2 separate regions of the Homo sapiens genome follow, and region 2 is linked to region 1. The links are contacts of gene promoters, found by promoter capture Hi-C in human tissues and cell types (Jung and others, 2019). All regions are on one chromosome and are shown on one strand. The core of a region is centred on a gene start or on the middle of the fragment in contact, and the rest is flanking DNA. Distances in the headings are between cores, read along the strand shown.

Evidence for each region. The method cuts DNA at HindIII sites, captures the fragments that hold promoters and counts their contacts. A contact is called where the count stands out against the background at its distance.
Region 2: a fragment that was not itself captured here is called in contact with the fragment with the promoter of HSPG2 in region 1 in 1 of the 25 tissues and cell types used here (H1 embryonic stem cells).

What each region holds. Positions count from the first base shown.
Region 1 is chr1:21,935,687-21,938,844 of GRCh38, reverse strand. It overlaps HSPG2 (heparan sulfate proteoglycan 2), which reads left to right and starts at 1,535. Exons shown (of 97, transcript NM_005529.7): 1 at 1,535-1,690. The coding sequence starts at 1,628. RefSeq lists a silencer at 1,147-1,496 and an enhancer at 2,244-3,085. The HindIII fragment of the contact is 19,449 bases long and covers 1-3,158 here.
Region 2 is chr1:22,099,580-22,102,737 of GRCh38, reverse strand. CDC42 (cell division cycle 42) reads right to left here. Exons shown (of 6, transcript NM_001791.4): 6 at 1,378-3,158. Among named protein-coding and RNA genes, the nearest start is that of WNT4, 42 kb to the left of the region's middle. The HindIII fragment of the contact is 3,633 bases long and covers 1-3,158 here.

The sequences.
Region 1 (3,158 bases), core at 286-2,785:
TCCTCCTCTATCATTACTCAAAAGGTTTTCCTCAAAGCTACACACACATAGTTTTCCTCTCCACCCATCAGCCTCGGGCTGCCCTGGAAATTTCAGGCAGAAGAGGGGAGCTGAAGAGTAGGCAGTGAATAGGTCTGGGGGCTTGGTGCTGTTTGCTGCCTGCGGTTGGGTCAGAGACAGATCATGGGGCTGTGATTTTACCACCCACCCGAGCATCTGTGATGGGGCTTTGGCAGGGTCTGTCTGTCTGGGCCTGAGTGTGTGAGTTGGTGTGGTTCTGGCTCTGGGGCTGTGATTTATGTGACTCAAAGTTGGTGTGTGAGTGATTTACATGGAAAATGGTGCAGGTGGGGTGGGCAGCTCAGTTCAGTACCCAGTGCCCACTATGAGGCACTGTGATTAGTGGGTGAGAACAGGTAAAAGATACAGGCTGAGGCTGGGTGCGGTGGCTCAATGCCTGTAATCCCATCACTTTGGGAGGGCAAGGCGGGCAGATCACAAGGTCAGGAGTTCGAGACCAGCCTGGCCAACATGGTAAAAACCCCATCTCTATTAAAAATACAAAAATTAGCCAGGCGTGGTGGCACGCCTGTAATCCCAGCTATTCAGGAGGCTGAGGCCGGAGAATTGCTTGAACCCGGAGGCGGAGGTTGCAGTGAGCCAAGATCCCACCACCGCACTCCAGCCTGGGGACAGAGCGAGACTCCTTCTCAAAAAAAAAAAAAAAAAAAAAAACAAGCTGGTAAGCATGTAGGCAATGATGTGGGCCTGTGTGTGAAATGTGCGTGCCTGCGAGGAATCTATGTGAAAAGGCGTCCTCCCGCTCCGTGACTTGTTGGGATGTATGCGTGAGTGAGGGGCTGAGTGTGGTGTGAGGGCTGTCTCCTGTGTCCCTGGTGGAGGTGAGAGTTTGGAAGCGAGTTAAGTGTGCATGTGAGCCGGTGAGGATTGTTGGTACTTCAGAGTTGGGTCCAGAGTGTGAAAGTGTTCCCGGGTAGCGCACAAGTGTGTTCGTGCAGTAAAGTTATGGTGTGAAGGTGTTCTTGGGTGTGGAAGTTGGCGTGCACGTGTGGCGCGGAGCGGCAGCTGCGTGCGTGTGAGCGTGGGAAGGAGATCCCGGGATCTTCAAAAGCTGCGCGAGTGGAGTCGGCCGTGCGGGGCGTGCAGGGGCGTGGAAGTCGGCGGCGCGCGCGGGGAAGCGGGGGAGCCGGGGATCGGGGAGGCGAGAGCGCCTGGCCCGGCGGCCCCATCCCATGCCCGGGCCCGGGCCCCCGGTCCCCCGCCCCGTCCCATCCCATACTCCAGGCCGGGTTTGGCGGGGAGCCGGGCCGGGCCGCGGCCCGCGCGGAGGGGGCTGGGGGCCCAGACAAAGGCCTAGTAGGCTGCGCGGCCGGCTGGGGCGAGCAGAGCCCGCGGCCCGGGGGCGGTCCGTGGGCGGGGCCTGGCGCTCCGGGGAGGGGCGGTTCGGGGGCGGGGCCGGCGCTGCGGGGGCGGGGCGGGCGGGGAGGAAAGGGGGCGGTGGGGAGAGGGCCGCGCTGTCCCGAGCTGGCCGGCGAGCGGGCGGCTGCGGGCGGCGCGGAGCGGGCGGCGCGGAGCGAGCGAGCGAGAGAGCGGCGCGGGCCGGGCCATGGGGTGGCGGGCGGCGGGCGCGCTGCTGCTGGCGCTGCTGCTGCACGGGCGGCTGCTGGCGGTGAGTGTGCGGGGCAGAGGGGCGGGGGGCGGGGGCGGAGGGGCTAGGGGCGCCCCGGTCCCGCTCGCCGCCTCCCGCCAACTTGGCTGGGGCGCCCAAGGCTGCGCGGCGGGGACTCTGGCCCGGGACGGCGGCGCCCGCCGGGGACCCCGGGCCGGCGCCACCCTGCGGCATGGGGCTAATCCAGGGGGGCCACCAGTCAGGACCCTTCGTGGGGCTGGGGGCGGGGCTGGCCCGTGTGGGAGCCCGTGGGTCTCTCGGCCACGTTGCCGAGTGCTGGAGTCTCGCTGGGCATGGTCCGGCCTACCATTCCTGGGGACCAGGAGGGGAAACTTTGAGCAGGGTGGGAACTTGGCAGGACGAGGGAACCCTTCTGCGCCAGCTTGGCAGAACGGCCACTCAGTGGTGATGGGGACCCTATGAGTCTCGCTGAAACTTTACCACACCGTCTATCACCTTGGGGAGCTTGGACCCAGGTAGGCACAAGCAAAACTTTTGGGACAGAACTGAAGCTTGTGTGGAACACCCACGGGCCTTGGAGTCATACAGCCGAAGAGTTGAATCAATCCCTGCCTTTCACTGAGTAACTGTGTGACCTGGGGCACGCTAGTTAACCTCTCTGAGGCCAGCCCCACGTGGGTCAAGGGAACTCAAAATGCACGGCCTCAAAATGCATAGCTGCAGGGCGTTGCTGGACTGCGTGGAATGAGCTGCAAAGTGCGTGGTGCGGGGATGCAGTGCACCCTTGGGGGACCCGAGTTCCCCAGCTTTCCTCTTCCCAGGTCTCCAAGAGGCAGGGAGAGGCCTGCCCTTGCAGTCTAGTCCCCTACTCTGAGCTTAGGTGGAGGAAAAGGGAATTCTACGGTCAGGAATCCCGAGGCTTAGAAGGCACTTGGCCAGCAGAGGCCCTGAGGACCTGAGTGAACTTGAGGAGGACTGGGTGGGGTCGGTGGGCAGGGAGCTAGTGGCAGATGTGGGTGGGGGCACATCTGGGGAGCCGAGCCTACCGTGGGGAGCCACAGAGCCACCCCCACTCTCTCCGAGGTGCTCCTAGGCAGTCCCCATACCTGCCTCCCTGTTCTCTGAGCCAAGAGAGGGACTTTTCTAACCAGGCTGGTGTTTACCCAGGAACTGCCTGCCTGGCCTCACCTTCCTGGCTTCATCGCACCTCTACCCTCCTGAGTCACTCGTCAAGCCCCCACCCAGACCTGGCTCCTCACTGCTCTTGCCCCACCCACCCAGCACTTCTCCTCCCCCATCCCCACTCTGGGCAGCCTCCTCTGTCGTCCTCCTGTTTCAGCCTCTCACCCCAAAATATTCAGCAGGGCCATCCAGTAGCTCCCTAGTCTTGACCTGAACTTGCACTCCTGGCACTGACTTTTACTTTTCCCAACGCACCAACCTAGCACGTGGGATGTTTTCCGAGGCCCAACAGTCTTTCCTGACCTTCCCCCAGCTCTGCCCCCGA
Region 2 (3,158 bases), core at 459-2,958, 160 kb before region 1:
AGTAAATCACAGTGACAAATTACCATTTTGTACCCACTACCATTATAAAATTGGCTGTTCTTCTATGAGAATTCCCTATCAGACAAAGCTTTGTCTATCCTCTTGTCCGAGTGCTTATTGGAGGAGAGTACCTTATCCCTAAATCCTAATGACAACTCTGCAGAATTGGCTCGATTTTACAGATGTGTAAATCAAGACTCAAAAACTAAAGCAGTTTGCCCAAACACAGCTAGTCATTAACAGAGCCAGATTCAAAGTTAGGGCCTTCTACTCCAAAATATATGTGCTTTTCCTACTATTTAATACAGTTTTTCTCTTTAAAATCAAAAAGTTCTACATAGAACTGGCACTAGAATGATTCCTGAAACATGAACAACAGGAAATATGCTATTTTATATAAATTGTAATGAAGAATGCCAGGATACTTACAAGAAGGGAAACAGATAAGTCTGTGTAAAGGGATCTAGTTTCACCACTGAATTATATTTATGCTTGGATCCTACTAGTATTCCCAAAAGGAAGTGATCCATAAGGTAGGAAAATATCCTGTCTGCCGCTGTTAAGAAGCCGTATTTGGCCAGGCCCAGTGGCTCACGCCTGTAATCCCAGCACTTTGAGAGGTCGAGGCGGGAGGATCACCTGAGGTTGGGAGTTCGAGACCAGCCTGACCAACATGGAGAAACCCCGTCTCTACTAAAAATACCAAAAAATGAGCTGGGCGTGGTGGCACATGCCTGTAATCCCAGCTACTCAGGAAGCTGAGGCAGGAGAACTGCTTGAACCTTCGAGGTGGAAGTTGCAGTGAGCCAAGATCACGCCATTGCACTCCAGCCTGGGCAACAAGAGCGGAACTTCGTCTCAAAAAAAAAAAGCAGCCGTATTTATCCTATAAACAAAAACCAACTCGGTCTTTACTGGTTACTGCTATACATTTTTTTTAAAACTACAGACTGAACCAAACTTAGAATCTCTCAACTATATCAGTAAAAATCTAAAAAGATTCTCCATATAGGGATAATAATCACAAAATTCTTGAAGACTCACTAGTCTACTTGTATATTTAGTATACAGGTTTTATAGATTTTTGTTAACTACCTGTCAATAGCTAGCAAAAAATCCTGAAACTTAAGAGGCTACAGAAATGAACCTGCACCAGTCGTGTTCAAATCCCTTGGCAACACCTTAGAGGTTACTAGGGCTGCACAAAGTTTATCTCTGTTTGCAACAAGGAGGCAGTGGGAAGAGTAAAGCTGCTGGGCCTGCATTAACTACAGCAACTCTGTTTCATACACCTTTTCTGTTTCTACAGTGGGGCTCTATATAAGCTTTTGTTTATGAAAAAGAAGGCCTACTGAAAAAAAGACACAAACCAAAAAGGAACAGAAACTCATTTTATTGAGATGAGGAAACCAAGGCCCAAAAAGGTATGGCAACTTGCCCAAGGAAACTCTGGTGCCTCAACTAGAACCTGGATCTTCAACTTCCAACTGAGAGCTCTTTCCAACAGTGTTATTACTACCATGGGAGAAATGAAGATATAGTATCAAACACCATAATGCAAGTTAGGAGCAAAAACAGGACTTGATTTATCACGCTATATGTACCAGGGTTCACGGAGTTTTCTAGCAGCAGAGGAGATAATCACAAACTCAGCACCCTCCAGTAAAGTCATTCTTACAAGAAGCCAGTGAAGAATTCACAGGTGCCTGCCCACCCTTCACAAGCTGCCAAGAGATGGACCTAACTCCTTAACACCAATAATTCCAATACAATTGTGAAATCCTCAAGTTATGGAGAAAAAGGAGCATTTCTTTAAGAGCTTCAGAATCAAGACAAAAAAAATCCCTCTCCCATCAAACTAGTGCAAACCTTACAAAGGAGGGCTAAGAAGCTAGCACTGGGGCCCCATGGTGGGTCTGGAACTCCATACACATTTCCAGCCCTATCAGAGTTGGTTAGAGATGAAATTAAAAGCCTTACTCTACTCCTGGCAATGAGTATGAGGAGGAAGCCCCTCACTGATACAGCAGTTTAAGACCCAGAAGTCAACAGGGTTTTCTGGTCCTGATTTGATGTGAGCCAACAATGATGACAGTGATGAAGACAGCTGCTATCTACCCCATTCACAGATGAGTACCTTCTACTTGCCAGGCACTATGCTAAGAACCTCACATATAGCAATTCATGTCACTCTCACAACTCTTGGGCAAAGTACAGCTATTTCCACTTCACAGAGAATGCAACACTCAGAGCATTTAAGTTACTTGCCTGAAGACATAGATCAAGTTAGTGGCAGAGCCAAACTCAAATCCAAAGCCTATGCATGTACTTCGCACAACACCAACAATGCCAAGTTGTTTCGCCTCAGTTTTACCATTTGACAAATGACATCATCCATCCCTGCCTCTTTTACAGAGTTGTACTGAGGTCAAGTGAAATCACTAATACAAACATGACTTGAAGTTTAGGAGTTTACTACTTAAACTCAAAAACTGCATGAGTATCCCTGACCGTTTGCAGAGAAGATGAAGGCAGAGCCCCAGTCATCTCCCTGTGCTTGGGTCAAGCTAATGAAAGAAGGGAGCCAGGTTGCAGAGCTGGCTCCAAGCCTCCCTCAGACCTTGGGTATTCACTAAGGTGCAACTTTCTCACCAAACAAACCCTGCTCTTCCCAACTCACAGGCCTATTATACAAAAAAAAAAAAAAAGAAGAAGAAGAAGAAGAAAGAAAAAAAGGCCAGCTGAGCAGACTCTAGAGACAGACTGCTTAAATTCAAATCCCAGTTCCCTCACTTACTAGCTCTGAATTCTTGGACAAGCTAGCTCTGAATTCTTGGACAAGCTTTGTATCATAACATGCCTCAGTTTCCACATATGAAAAAATGGGGGATTGCTGAGAAGACTGAGTTAATTCACACAAAGGCTTAAAAGAGTGCCATGTAGAGAATAAACACTCAAATTTTAAGAAGGACCAAATGACACAATGGGCAAAGGCACCCTACAATCCTCTAAAGCTACACCTTTAGATCCTCTAAAGGAAGAAGGTGTCATATTCTCTCATGCTACAACTGATCCTAAAGTCACCTCCCCCAAAAAGCTCCTACCCAACAAACCTACCCTTACAGATGAAGCCTTTTATGCTGCTTTGCTTGCCCTGT